2 separate regions of the Homo sapiens genome follow, and region 2 is linked to region 1. The links are contacts of gene promoters, found by promoter capture Hi-C in blood cells and fetal thymus (Javierre and others, 2016). All regions are on one chromosome and are shown on one strand. The core of a region is centred on a gene start or on the middle of the fragment in contact, and the rest is flanking DNA. Distances in the headings are between cores, read along the strand shown. Region 1 holds the start of BRDT (bromodomain testis associated). Region 2 overlaps HFM1 (helicase for meiosis 1).

The links. Contacts are between HindIII fragments. The CHiCAGO score rates a contact against its expected background, and 5 or more counts as called.
Region 2: a contact is called between a fragment that was not itself captured here and the fragment with the promoter of BRDT in region 1, in 3 of 17 cell types (naive B cells, total CD8 T cells and naive CD4 T cells). The highest score is 5.5, in naive B cells.

What each region holds. Positions count from the first base shown.
Region 1 is chr1:91,944,425-91,951,820 of GRCh38, reverse strand. BRDT (bromodomain testis associated) reads right to left here and starts at 2,420. Exons shown (of 19, transcript NM_207189.4): 1 at 2,139-2,420. The HindIII fragment of the contact is 8,652 bases long and covers 1-3,828 here.
Region 2 is chr1:91,279,377-91,286,772 of GRCh38, reverse strand. The region is part of intron 30 of HFM1 (helicase for meiosis 1); the gene reads left to right. Among named protein-coding and RNA genes, the nearest start is that of HFM1, 120 kb to the left of the region's middle. The HindIII fragment of the contact is 410 bases long and covers 3,581-3,990 here.

The DNA of each region.
Region 1 (7,396 bases), core at 1,171-3,670:
CTTGCCAAAGTGCTGGGATTACAGGCCTGAGCCACCTCACCTTCCCCACTTTGGAGTCTCACTCTGTCGCCCAGGCTGGAGTGCAGTGGTGTGATCTCAGCTCACTGCAACCTCCGCCCCTCCAGGTTTAAGCAATTCTCTGCTTCACCCTCTGGAGTAGCTGGGATTACAGGCGCGTGCCACCACGCCCGGCTAATTTTTTTGTATTTTTAGTAGAGACGGGGTTTCACCATGTTGGCCAGGCTGGTCTTCAACTCCTGACTCCCAAAGTGCTGGGATTACAGGCGTGAGCCACCGCGCCCAGCCTTTTTTTTCTTTTTTTTTAATTCCATCTATACACGCCCCCCCGCCACCCTGCCGCCCCGCCTTATGCCAATCTCAGCCACTTCAAAGTATCAAATACATGGGCACAAATGACTGCTGAATATAATTTAAATATTCGAGATACTTACTGTTTTCCTATTCTCCATCCAATAAACCACTGCTTTTATTCAATCACTAGTCACCACATAAATTATGCAATGGTGTTGCTTAAGATCATACAGTTCAACTCACTGTCCTTCATGCTATACAAACCCCTTTATAATCTGCCCCCTTACTAGACTCATCTCTTGCTACTTCACCAATTCCCAACACGGTCAGCGACAGTGAGGCAGGGTATCTGTAGTACTAGCTAGCCAGTAGGCTTAGGCAGAAGAATCGCTTGAGGTCAGTTCAGGCTGTAGTTGGCCATGACAGTGCCTGTCAATACTCCAACCTGGGCAACACAGCAGGACCATCTCTTTTTTTTTTTTTGAGACGGAGTCTCACTGTCATCCAGGCTAGAGTGCAGTGGCCCGATCTCAGCTCACTGCCACATCCACTTCCTCCTGGGTTCAAGCCATTCTCCTGCCTCAGCCTCCCAACTAGCTAGGACTACAGGCACCCACCACCATGCCCGGCTAATTTTTCTATTTTTAGTAGAGATGGGGTTTCGCCATGTCGGCCAGGCTGGTCTCAAACTCCTGACCTCAGGTGATCCACCCGCCTCGGCCTCCTAAGTGCTGGGATTACAGGCGTGAGCGACTCAGGCGATCCTCTGAGATCGCCCAGCCATAGCAGCTATCTGTATTAAAAAAAAAAAAAAAAAAAAAAAAGCAATTATCCACTGTCACATCCTACTCGGTGTACATACATCCATGCCTTTGAGAAACTTCTCTTTACCTGAACTTCCCTCCTCACTTTTTAGTCTAACTTCTATTTGTCCCTCAAGATCAAGACGAGTTATCACTTCTGCCCAAGAGCCTCTCTCATTCCCTCCCATCCACCCAGGCCTTTCCCTTGAGTCCCAAAGTCCCTGTACATACCTCTTTCTTTTTTGGGGGGAGCGGGGAGACGGAGTCTCACTCTGTCGCCCAGGCTGGAGTGCACTGGCGTGATCTCGGCGCACTGCAACTTCCGCCTCCTGGGTTCAAGCGATTCTCCTGCCTCAGCCTCCCGAGTAGCTGGGACTACAGGCGCCTGCCATCACACCCAGCTAATTTTTGTATTTTTGGTAGAGATGGGCATTTCATTATGTTGGCCAGGCTGGTCTTGAACTCCTGACCTCAGGTGATCCACTTGCCTCGGCCTCCGAAAGTGCTGAGATTACAGGGGCGAGCCACTGCACCCGGCCTCCTCTATCTTAATTCTTAATACAGGCCAGCGCGCCTTGAAGTAAAGCCCACCACAATCCTGCAGTACCCAAAAGAGGGTTCAGACGTTCCAGGGGCTTAATAAAGTTAATTGAATAAATAAATGAAGCAAGAACCCGAACTTCCCCGTCCCAAATGACCACTTGCAGAATAAACACAAAATGCCAGCTAAAGCTAAACGCTCCGTACTTTCTCCTGCATTTCCAAAATTACAGTACAGGCAGCAGCGATCCACACCAGTCCAAGACCTAAGAGGAACTACAAAGACCATGAGTATTTTTCAAAATGGGAGGAGGCAGTTGGACAACTGGACCTCCCACTCCCTCGCCCCAACCTCCTCCTTCCCAGCCCTCCCTTGAAGAAAAACCAGACATTTAGGGGAAAAGAGGGAGAGAGAGAAAAAGATCCCTTGGGGGCAACGAGCCTGAAGTTGGTAAGGCCAAAGGGAAGCGACTGGCAACTCACCTGGGCTGCAGGCACGAAGCGGGGTGGCCTTCTCAACTGCCCGGACTGTCGCACGATGTTGATGGGGTCGGGGAGGGGAGAGGGGGGAAAAAACGGTTGTTCCCACCCAAGGCCGCACCTCGGGGCCGGCCTAAGGCAGCACCCCCTGTGGAGGGTACATTACCTGTATGTTACCTGTATATTACAAAACCGACCTTATGTGATTGCCCCTTTCAGGCTGCACAAAATGAAGCGGTGCAGGGCAACAGTTCTCCGCAGTTCCTCGCCGCCAGTTTTTGTTGTAATGGCGGTCGCGCGACAGGCGCTTTTATAGAAGACCCCCCGCGGGCGGCCTGCCCATTGGTCTGAACCTGTCACGTGACCACACCCAGCCCCGGGCGGTGCAAAAAAGGTGTAGGAGTCTGAGCCGGGCAGCTCAGGCCTGTTAGGGCAGGCAGAGTGGGTTCGGGTGATTGCCGTGTAGAGAGCCGGGGGTTAGGAGTAGGAGCGCTACACTCAAGGCGTTTGCTGTTAACACGACGTTTTCACTAATCAGTTAGCCTAGTAGAGGTTCTTGAGTTTTGGCTTCTGATGTTTTCGTGGTTTTCACGCTTTTTTCCCCAGCCTTCTCCACAGTTCCTGTCTCTTGCACGTAGTGAGTGCTTGATCAATATTAGGTAGCAGCTGAGGCTAGAGACATACTCTCTTTGGGTTTAAAGTGGCAATTTAAGAGCTGTTTCGCAACAGCTGCGTACTGATGAGTGCGTGATTTAGGATTTTGAGTCTTCGCAACTACCTCTTGATGGTTTGCAGATACTTTAGAGGTGCTAACATGTATCAGAAGAATATATTTAGTACAGTAGTTTCCCTTAGGATCAAATAGCAAACAACGCTTCTGAATTCCTAATACTCATTCGCAGTGGATGGATGGGAAGGGGAGGGCAAAAACAGCTGACAAGCTGCTCGCAAATCCGGCCAAAAAACCATCGATCTCCAGTTTCCTGAAGCGGAAGTCTGGGGGCCATTAACAGCTTGACACGTCTTAATTCAATCACTTTGATGTGGCAGGAAAGAACCAAGTGTTCACAAGAAAGCAACGCACTTGATCTACTTACTAGACGTCACATAAATACCTGGATTGGCAAGCACTTTTTGTTTAGATTTAATTTTCGTGTTCTTGTTTTTGCTGTTTAAAGTAGTATTAATGGTGTGGCTGCAGGCGCCTGCAATGCCCGTTACTGGGGAGGTTAAAGCGGAAGGCTCACTTAATCCCAAGGTTTCAAGGCCAGCCAGAGCAACAACGTGAAACTCTAATAGATTAGAGATTAGATATAGAGATTATCTTATTGTTCAGGAAAAGAGTAGATGGGTACAGACTTAGGGTGTGACTCTCACATCATGAAAAATCTGAAAGAAGTCAAGGGAAATGAAAGAGAGGAATGACTCAGTACAAATTTTGCCCCAACTATCAACTTTTTGACCTTCCTCTTGAGAATTAGTGGCAGGGAGACATGTACACTCTAGGTAAAGAAGATTGAGTGATTTTTTTGAGATTGAGTCTTGCTCTGTGGCCCAGGCTGGAATGAAGCAATGCAATCATAACTCAAGGTAGTCTCGAACTCCTGAGCTCAAGCATCCTCCTACCTCAGCCTCTCCAGGTACTGTAGGTGCAGACCACCACATTGCCTTCTGAACCATCTTTTAAAAAGCTTAATCTCAGGCTGGGCTCGGTGGTTCATGCCTGTAATCCCAGCACTTTGGGAGGCTGGGGGTGGGGGTGGGAAGGGGTGGATCACTAGGTCAGGAGTTCGAGACCAGCCTGACCAACATGGTGAAACCCTGTCTCTACTAAAAATACAAAAATTAGCTGGGCGTGGTGGCACGGGTCTGTAATCCCAGCTACTCAGGAGTCTGAGGCAGGAGCATCGCTTGAACCTGGGAGGTGGAGGTTGCAGTGAGCCGAGATCGTGCCACTGCACTCCAGCCTGGGCAACAGGGCGAGACTGCATCTCAAACAAACAAACAAAAAGCTAAATCTCATCATGTTACCACCCTTAAAACCTTTCAATTACTTTCCATTATTTTTAGGATAAAAAGCAAACCCCTTAAGATGAGCTAAAAAGTCCTACATGCCTTCAGCTCCAACTACACCTTCAGTAGTGCCCCCATCTTCAGCCAGTGACCTTTCAGCTCTTTCCAGGACCCTATCCTTTGTCTCTGGGCTTCTACAATTGGCTCTTTCATCCTTCCTCCGATCCCACACTGATTCCTCAACTCTCAGGCTGAAGTCATTTCCTCAAGGGGGCCTCCACTGGATTAGGTCTTCCTGTTAAACACTCTTATTACAACCTAATTAAATAGCACTAATTACAACTGTATAGCCAGTGGTATATTTAATGTCTATTTCCTGCACTAGACAGTATGTACCATAAGTGCAAAGTATCAAAAACTTTTAAAGTATATTATCATTGAGTAAATTACCCTTCGATCCTGCCTTTTGTTTTTTTTTTTTTTTTGAGACAGGGTCTTGCTCTGTCACCCAGGCTGGAGGGCAATGACATGATCATGGCTCACTGCAAACTCCACCTCCTGGGTTCAAGCTATTCTCCTGCCTCAGCCTCCCAAGTAGCTGGGACCACAGGCATGTGCAACCACGCCCAGCTAATTTTTTTTGTATTTTTAGTAGAGATGGGGTTTTATCATGTTGGTTAGGCTGGTCTTGAACTCCTGACCTCAAATGATTCGCCTGCTTTGGCCTCCCAAAATGCTGGGATTACAGACGTGAGCCACTGCACCAGGCCCTGCCTGGGTTTTAATGACTCTGGCAAATTAGATTTGAATTAAGGGGGTGGGGAAAGTAAAAAGACCAGATTTGAAGTTTCTTTTGTTTTCTGTTATTTTTGTTTTCTTTTTTTTTTAACTTGAAATGGCTGCAAAAATGGAGAATATGGAGAATGGGTTTATTTGGGAGGTAGACCTCCCCACTAGGATTTGGTATTAGATTAGATGTAAAGATGGTCTGGGTTGCATTGAGCATTTGGAGAATGGCACCATTTACTGAAAGGGAATCAGTCTTAGAAGGTTGAAGATCATTATTTCAGTTTTGAATATTCTGTAAGATATCTAGGTGGAGATTTTGAATAAGAAGTTGATTAACCAGTTCAAAATACAGTCTAGGCTAAAGATGGGAAAGAAGGACAGGAAGGAGGTTAGGAGAGAGTGGAAATTTTTCTAAATAATTATTACAGAGAACAGAACAAGCTGATTGGAAATGTGCATTTAGTAAGACATACTTGAGACAGTGAAGACACAGAAATTGGTGACTGTTTGTGGAGAAATGAGGTAGTAGCATTGAGATTTGCCAGGGGTGTATGACAGAAAAATGGTAGGGGAAAGTAGCTTCAAAAATATGGAAAAGAAAGTGGGCTGGGCGCAGTGGCTCACGCCTGTAATCCCAGTATTTTGGGAGGCCGGGGTGGGCGGATCGCCTGAGATCAGGAGTTTGAGACCAGCCTGGCCAACATGGTGAACCCCGTCTCTACTAAAAATACAAAAATGAGCCAGGTGTGGTGGTGGGTGCCTGTAATCACAGCTACTCGGGAGGCTGAGGCAGGAGAATTGCTTGAATCTGGGAGGCGGAGGTTGCAGTGAGCCAGGATTACACCACTGCATTCCAGCCTGGGCGACAGACTGAGACTCCATCTCAAAAAAAAAAAAAAAGAAAGTGGCTGAAGACTAGGATATTATGAGGCTATTCTATGACATATGGAAATACTCGTAATTATGATTTTTTAAAAAATCATCAAAGAGTTTCAGGTAGCATGCATTTTTCATTTAAATCAGGCTATCACAAGAACATACTTTGGAGACATTTTAACATTTCCATCCTTCACAGTGATTGGGGGATCACCGGGTTGCCTAAGGAGGGAGGAACCAACCCAGGTCAGAAACGGATCAGGTTGGCCGGGCACCGTAGCTCATGTCTGTAATCCCAGCATTTTGGGAGGCAAGGAGGGGTGATCACTTGACATCAGGAGTTCAAGACCAGCAGAGCCAACATGGTGAAGCCCCGTCTCTACTAAAAATAAAAAAATTAGCTGGATGTGATGGTGCCCGCCTATAATCCCAGCTACTTGGGAGGCTGAGGCACGAGAATTGCTTGAATCCGGGAGGTGGAGTTTGCAGTGAGCCAAGAATGAGCCACTGCACTCCAGCTTGGGCGACAGAGTGAGACTCCATCACAAAACAAAACAAAACAACAACAAAAAGAAATGTAGCAGGTCAAAACTCCTGTGCTGATCAGTAATGGGATCTCAGCTGTGAATAGCCTGTGCACTCTAGCTGGGCAATATAGCAGGACCTTGTCATTAATATATATATATATATATATATATATATATATATATATATATATATATATATATTTTGTTGTTGTTGTTGTTTAAGTTTCCATCCTTCATCTAACATTAGATTCAACAAAAGGAAACCCATCTTCTGGTCTCCATAGCAACTATAGATTCACAAATGTCCTCAAAACTAAGAGTTAAAGAATTTAAATTTACAACTGGTTTATCACTAAAAATGAAAAAATATCACTCTTGCCTCAGAAGGAGGAAATTTTTTAAAAAGTAAAAATAGGCCGGGTGCAGTGATTCATGCCTGTAATCCCAGCACTTTGGGAGACCGAGGCGGGCAGATCATTTGAGTCCAGGAGTTCAAGACCAGTCTGACCAACATGGCGAAACCCCATCTCTACTAAAAATACAAAAATTAGCCGGGCGTGGTGGTGGGTGCCTGTAATCCCAGCTACTCAGGAGGCTGAGACAGGAGAATCGCTTGAACCCAGGAGGCAGAGGTTTTAGTGAGTCAAGATCATGCCACTGCACTCCAGCCTAGGTGACAGAGTGAGACTCCGTCTCAGAAAAAAAAAAAAAAAAAGGTGTAGAGACAGGGTCTCACCGTGTTGCCCAGACTGGTCTCTGGTCTCGAATTTCTGGCCTCAAGGAATCCTTCCACCTCAATCTGTTGAGTTTTTTTTTGAGACAGGGTCTCACTCTGTTACCCAGGCTGGAGTGCAGTGGTGCAATCAGGCTCACTGTAGCCTCAACCTCTTGGCCTCAAGCCATCAGATCCTCCCACTTCAGCCTCCTGAGTAGCTGGGACTACAAGTGCACACCACCACCCCTGGCTAATTTTTTTTATTTTTTTTGTAGAGATAAGGTCCTGTCATGTTACCCAGGCTGGTCTCAAACTACTGGCCTCAAGAGATCCTCCCACTG
Region 2 (7,396 bases), core at 2,536-5,035, 670 kb after region 1:
GGCACTCCCTAGTGAGATGAACCCGGTACCTCAGATGGAAATGCAGAAATCACCCGTCTTCTGCGTCGCTCACACTGGGAGCTGTAGACTGGAGATGTTCCTATTCGGCCATCTTGGCTCCTCGGTCGTGAATGTGATCTTATCTGGAATAGAGTTTACAGATATAATCAAGTTAAGGTGGACCCTAATCCAATATGACTGCATCCTAATCCAATATGACTGGTGTCCTTATATGAAAAGGCAAAAAGACACAGACACCAAGAAAACTCCATAAGAATACCAATACAGAGGAAAGACAGCCATGCAAAGACAGAGGCAGAGATTATAGTTATGCTCCCACAAGCCAAGAAATGTCTAGAGCTATCAGAAACTGGAAGAGTTGAGGAAGGATCCTCTCCTAGAGAATTCAGAGGGAGTATGGCTCTGCCAGCAACTTATTTCAGACTTTTAATCTTCAGAACTGTGAAAGAATAAATTTCTGTTGTTTTAAGCCATCCAGTGTGTGGTACTTTGTTATAGCCACCCTAGAAAACTAATATACTAATCTGTGCTGTTAAAAGTCAAGATAAAGATTACTCTTGACAAAGTTGACTAGAATAGGACAGAAAGATAGTTTCTAGGGGTGCTGATATTTCTCTGTTGTGGGTAGTACTGAACTCTATATATATAATTTCCTTATTAAGTCAAGAACTTTCACCTTTTCACTTAAAGGAAACTACAGCTTCTCTTTGGCACATCCAAATTGCCAGCATTGCTACTCTTGTGCTTTGGGGCCATTACTAAGTAAAACAAGGGTTACTTGAACACAAGTACTGTGATACCATGACCGTCGATTTGATCATTGAGACACCTACCAAGTGACTAAGGGGTGGGTAGCATATACAGCCTGGATATGCTGGGCAAAGGAATGATTCACATCCAGGACAGAGTGAAGTGGGACAGCCTGAGATTCTATCATGCTACTCAGAATGATGTACAATTTAAAACTTATGAAATATTTATTTCTGAAAATTTTCATGTAATATTTTCGGACCAGAGTTGACCTTGGGTAACTGAAACTGTGGAAAGCAAAATCATGGATGAAGGGGGCTACTGTATGTAATCATCCAAATCTTAGGAACTTATGCACATCCGTATTGTACAATTCAATTTTTATATGCAAATTTATATATCCCTGGATAAAGATACACAATTATACCTCTAAACCTAACATACATACACTCTTTCTTAGTAACTGACACAATTAAGGGGCAATAGATTACCCTACTAAGGCTGTGACACCAAATTTGGGCCTTTTCAAAACAATCCAAATTTCAGTTGTTCTAATCCCTTGTCAAATGGTGTTATTAAATGATACAAACTGATATTTAGTTCAGAGAATATAATTGCTAAATGGCTATTTCCAAATATGCTTTCAAGTTGAACAAATGTTTCAATTTTGTATATCATCAAATTATAGGACTATATATAAAAACAAAAACATGCACCTTAGGGAATATAAAATAATGAAAAATTCTTTTCATGCTTTCTACAACTTATATTAGTCCGTTTTCATGCTGCTGATAAAGACATAACTGAGACTGGGTAATTTATAAAGAAAATGAGGTTCGATGGGCTCACAGTTCCACGTGGCTGGGGAGGCCTCACAATCATGGCAGAAAGTGAAAGGCACGTCTTACATGGTGGCAGACAAGAGAGAATGAGAGCCAGCCGAAAGGAGAGACCCCTTATAAAATCATCAAATCTTGTGAGACTTATTCACTACCACAAGAACAGTATGGGGGAAACTGCCCCCATGATTCAATTATCTCCCCCAGGTCTCTCCCACAACATGTGGAAATTATGGGAGCTGCAAATCAAGATGAGATTTGGGTGAGGACACAGCCAAACCATATCAAACTTTTTGAAAACATTCTTTTAGCTGCAGTTTCTCACATATGGTTATAGTTCCAAGAGATAAAATTCTTGTATAATTTGAGGAAGAACATTTTTGTTATTTTTAATATATGGCAATGTGAGACATATTTTTAAGTTGTAAAAACAAAAATTAAAAAATTTTCAGGCCTGCTCTCAGTATATGAAGATTAGGCATTTAAACTTCTTATCCTTTAAATGCATTCTAAATAAGAATTACAGGCTTTGCTTAATTTGAAGAAAATCTATTTGACATTAATACATTTATCTTCATTTGCAGTATTATTCTGAATATGAATGTCTTGGAGCTAGGTACAGTGGCTCACACCTGTAATCTCAACAATTTGGGAGGCCGAAGGCAGGCAGATCACCTGAGGTCAGGAATTCCAGACTAGCCTGGCCAATGTGGTGAAACCCCATCTCTACTAAAAATACAAAAATTAGCTGGGCATGGTGGCAGGCACCTGTAATCCCATGTAATACGAGCTACTCGGGAGGCTGAGGCAGGTGAATCACTTGAGCCTTGGGCGGAGGTTGCAGTGAGTTGAGATTGCACCACTGCACTCCAGCCTGGGCAACAAAGGCAAAACTCTATCTCAAAAAAAAAATAATAATAATATAATAATAATAATAATTAATGTAGTTGAATGAATACAAGGATAAAGCCAGTCCTCAGGCACATTGTGTGTACATTTAAATACTAGTTAAAAGGCAGTCTACTTTTCTTTATATTCTTTGGTGTGTATGTGCATTAAGTTGCAAAATCAAGGACTCCAGTTCAGTGTATTCCTTTTCTGCATAAATAAATAACAAAATGATAGTAAAATATTTGACAGAAAAATGAAAAGGAGACTCTCTCATCATTAAAAAAAGTAAAACCATGAATTGCATAAATCTATGATTAGCATAAATGGAGAACTGCAAAAGTGAAAGTAATACTAAAAAAATACTCCAGTAGCTTCTGCACAGACCAAATTATTTGAATTTATAATTAGAAAGTTATGCTAAGTGTGACAGAGATTCTTGCTATTTTTTATTTATTGTCTGGACTTCTTTTTTTAAAGAAGTGACCCTTGCCCCGCCACCTGTTAATGACTCTGTTAAAGTAATTTTAAGTATTTTCTTTCAATACATTTCTATTTGATATTATTAATAAATTTACTTTAAATGCTTGGAACTAGAGACTTTATAACATGTAAATTAATACAATATGTGGCAAAACTATGAAAATATTTGCACCTCAGATTATGACAGTGATGGAATATGGAATCTGCTATCTTTAGAGTATACTTAAGAGTGCAGCTTAGGCTGGGCACAGTGACTCACACCTGTAGTCTCAGCACTTTGGGAGGCCGAAGTGGGTGGATTGCTTGAACTTACAGGTTCGAGACCAGCCTGGGCAACATGGCTGGTCTTTACAAACCCTGTCTCTACAAAAAATACAAAAATTAGCTGGGTGTGGTGGTGCATGCCTGTAGTCCCAGCTACTGAGGGGGCTGAGTTGGGAGGATCACTTGAGCCTGGGAGGCTGAAGTTTCAGTGAGCCGTGATGGTGCCACTGCACTCCTGCCTAGGTGATAGAGCCAGACTTTTTCTCAGAAGAGTACAGCTTAGATTATTTTTTTTCTGAGAACCTTATCTTTCTAATTACCAATATCTGTAAGCTTATATTTGCTAATAAGATAAATTCAGACAATTCTCAGGAGGTAGGGAGGGCGGCAGGGTAAAGGGAGCACTTTTATTTTCAAAGTACCATTCGTAACAAAAATACAGCAAAAAGATTTCGTCAGGTAGTATCCATGTGCTAGTGTTCTATAAACAAACAAACAAAACTTGCATACAGTCCTCATTCCTGACAAGACTTGCCAACTTTGCCTTGAAATTTTTGGGAGCCCTCGGAATCTCTCTAATTAGAGTCCCAGATCCTAGTTGCTGCCACTGGGAGCAAATGTGCTTAGTCATTGTGCACCACCTTGTGGCAGCGTTTAGACATGCATCTTTTTTAGAAGTTCTTTAGTATTTAAGACCCAAAGGCAACTCTTTATTCTTCATTTTAAAACAGCAACTTGCAAAGCTTTTCTTCCAAGTCTTCCCACCTCAAAACAAAGGTTCCTTCTCTAAATAACTTAAATGAATCCTCTGGGAGAGCTAAAGCAACTGGTACAACTAGAGAGAGAATTGTTGATAGATCAGTCTCTGGAATTAGACTACCTTGAATTAGAATCTCAAATTTGCTACTTACTAACAGCATAGTCTTGAGCATCTTACTTAACCTCTGTAAGAATTAATTTTCTCATAGGTGAAATGGAGATATAATAGGAACCTTATAGGCAGACAACCAAGGGTGATGAGACATTTTAGGAAAATGTAGAATGTGTGAAAGTCCAAAATAAGGAAATAGAAAATGGATGAAAGAGCAACAGGATAATTCAGGAATGTAATAAAACCTAATATAAAACTTTAGTAACGTCCGAGAAATTAAAGATTAAATTGCAACCACAAAACTGAATAGGATGCCATTTTAAAATAAAAAGAACCAGAGCAAGCACAGAGAAGCAAAAATTATGTTTGGAAGGAAAACCGGAGGTCTCGAACATAAAGTCAATACCTTCTCAATGAAAGCAAAAAGTCAAGGAGACAGAAAATATAAGAGAAAAGGGGGGCAATTTAAGAACCCAGTATCTAACTTATAAGTGTTCAAGAAAGAACAAACAAATCAGAAGAAATAATTTGAGAAACGTTTTCAGAACTGAAGTGAGACAGAAATCTTCACATTAAAAAGTCTTACTTAATGCTAGTTAGGATGAATGAAAGGTCTACAAATAAAGCTAATTGCAATATTTCAGAACATTGTGGATAAAGACAAAATTGTAAATGCTTACGAGGCACAAAAATTTAAAAATGTAATAGTCTTTTAGTGAGCAATGTTGGATGCTAAAAGTCAATTGATTTAAAATTCCAGGGGGAAGCCAGGCACAGTGGTTTGTGCCTGTAATCTCAGCTACTTGGAAGAATGAGAAGGCAGGAGTGCGTGCGCCCAAGAGTTCGAGGCTGCGGTGAGCTGTGGTCTCACACCTGCACTCCAGCCTGGGTGACAGAGCGAGACCCTGTCTCCAAAACTGTAATAATAAAAAATAAAATTCCAAGGGAAAAATGATTTTCAACCTTATGTTCTATGCCCAGCCAAACTACTAAGTATGAAAGTAATATAAAGATGCCTTAATACATTCAAAGATTCAGAAAATTTTATTCTTATACATCCTTTCTTAGGCAGTTGCTCAAAATTGAGCACCAGTAAAACAAGAAAGAAAAAGCCCAAGAATCCATTTGTAGTAGATTCAGCCCAGGAACTTAATGAAAGGAAGTTCAAAGGTGACAGTTACAGGACAGGTCTAGATTGCATTAGGAGGCAGATAGAGGGTTCAAGGAAGGAGGCATTGATGAGGGGGGAATAAATGGGTGAGGTATTCCCATGTATTTGCTTTTACCCTTCAACTATTGAGTGAACTTAAAGAAACAAGATGGATATTGCTAGACAAAAAGGAAGGCTGCAAAACTTCAGGGGAAGCAATATGCTGCTCAAGAAAGAAAACCACTCCACTTGATTCTGCATTAAAAATATTTTTACCTTCTGTATATCTCTCAAATCAGTCTATTCTCTGTAACTCTACTACCACCACCACTCTGGAGTTACCATGATTTCTGCTTAGACTTGTACTGGTTTTCTTGCATCCTTTCTGTCTTATCTCAAATCTGTTCTCCATATTACACTCTATATGGTGACGTTTTTCACAATGCAGATCTGATTGTGCCCCCTCTTCGGTTAAAACATTTCAGTGGCTTCCCATAGCTCTTAGAATCTAAATCATTAGCATCCCCTAGAAGGTTCTATATGGTCACATGGTCAACCAGTCCCTAAGCAGCAATGTAGTGGTAGCTGCTATGTGGTCTTGCCTCACTTCTGTAGATTTGGCTGGTAAGGACACCCTAATGGATTTAAACAGTTTATTACTTACACAGATGGCAAAGCAAGATCAGCATGGTATTAGCTGCTTACATCCCCAATTCCACAGGATGATACCAAACTAGGGGGGTCAGATGACAGACAACATGAGTGGTGGGTTGCTTTGTTTTTGAGAAGTGAACTCTAGGCTTCAGCTAAGCAGTTTTATCTGAAAGGGGCAAAATGGAAAGTTCCATACCTTAGTGGAATCAGGGAGGCAGATGAGAAACTGCCGCATGGCAAGTCTTCTGCAAGATCGAGGGTCTTCTGCAAGGTATGGAGCAAATGTGAAATGGCCTTTGATAGCTCCTCACAAGACTACCTATCTTGCCATTTTTAAGGATGATCATGGGGCATTCTGCCAACAGTTGAGTCTTACCTACATGGCCTATATGGAGATATGCAATTGCCATGGTGCCATGGTGGAACTGTTCCCCTACAAACATAGGCTGCCTTTACTACCACTATAGTCTCATCTTACATACTTTCTCATATTTGCTAGCATCAGTCATATTGACCTTTCAGTTTCCCCAATGTGCCATGCTTTTCCTTGTCATAGAGCTTTAGCATATGCTATCCCCTCTGCCTGAACTCTAATTTCTCCTCCTTCTTTGCCTTCTTAACTTCCCTTCTTTCTTCAGTGCTCAGCCCAACGTTCCTGACCAGAACAGCTTCACCTGTTACCACATAGCATGATGTACCACTCCTTCACAGCATTCAGAACAATTTTAGTTTAAAATTTATTTGTTTAATCTTGGATTGATGTAATAGTAGAGATAGCGGATATAATATATACATTAATATATTTGTTTATCACTTAATTGTCAATTGTTTTTACATACTTAAATTACATTTTATTTTTACGTCTCTGTGAGGTAAACAGAACAGATATTAAATCTTTTTTCCCAAATAAGAGCCTATATTAGAGCTCATTTTTTTTCTATTTTAGTGTTCCCTGTACTTCACCACTATGTTTTTTCTGTAAATACATTCAATATAAGGCAGCATACAGTAAGCAAGAGGCACAGAGAAAATGCCACAGGGGCCCAAAGGAGAGGGAAATCAGATCAGGTGATCACCATAGACCTCCAACCCAGAGGTGCCATTTGAGTCAGACTTGAAGGTTGGTAGGCATCTGTTGGGCAAGGAAATGAGGGTCTTCTAAGACAAGAGATAGTATCAAAGCTACAGTTATAAAAAGGCATGGAACTATTTGAAGAATGGCAATTGAATGTGTTTTGATGGATGTAGGGCTAATATGGGTCCCAGGAAGGGAAGCTGGAATTGGATCATGCAGGACCTTGAAGATGGAATTGATTTTGCTGGCAGTAGGAAGTAACTCATGTTTCTAAGTGGGCAAATTGGTCTGATCAGCATTGGACTTTAAAAGTATTAAATAAGCAACAATGTGTAGAATAAATTGTATCATGGAGGACTGGATTCAAAGAAACCAGTTCTGATCTAAGTGAGAGGTAACAG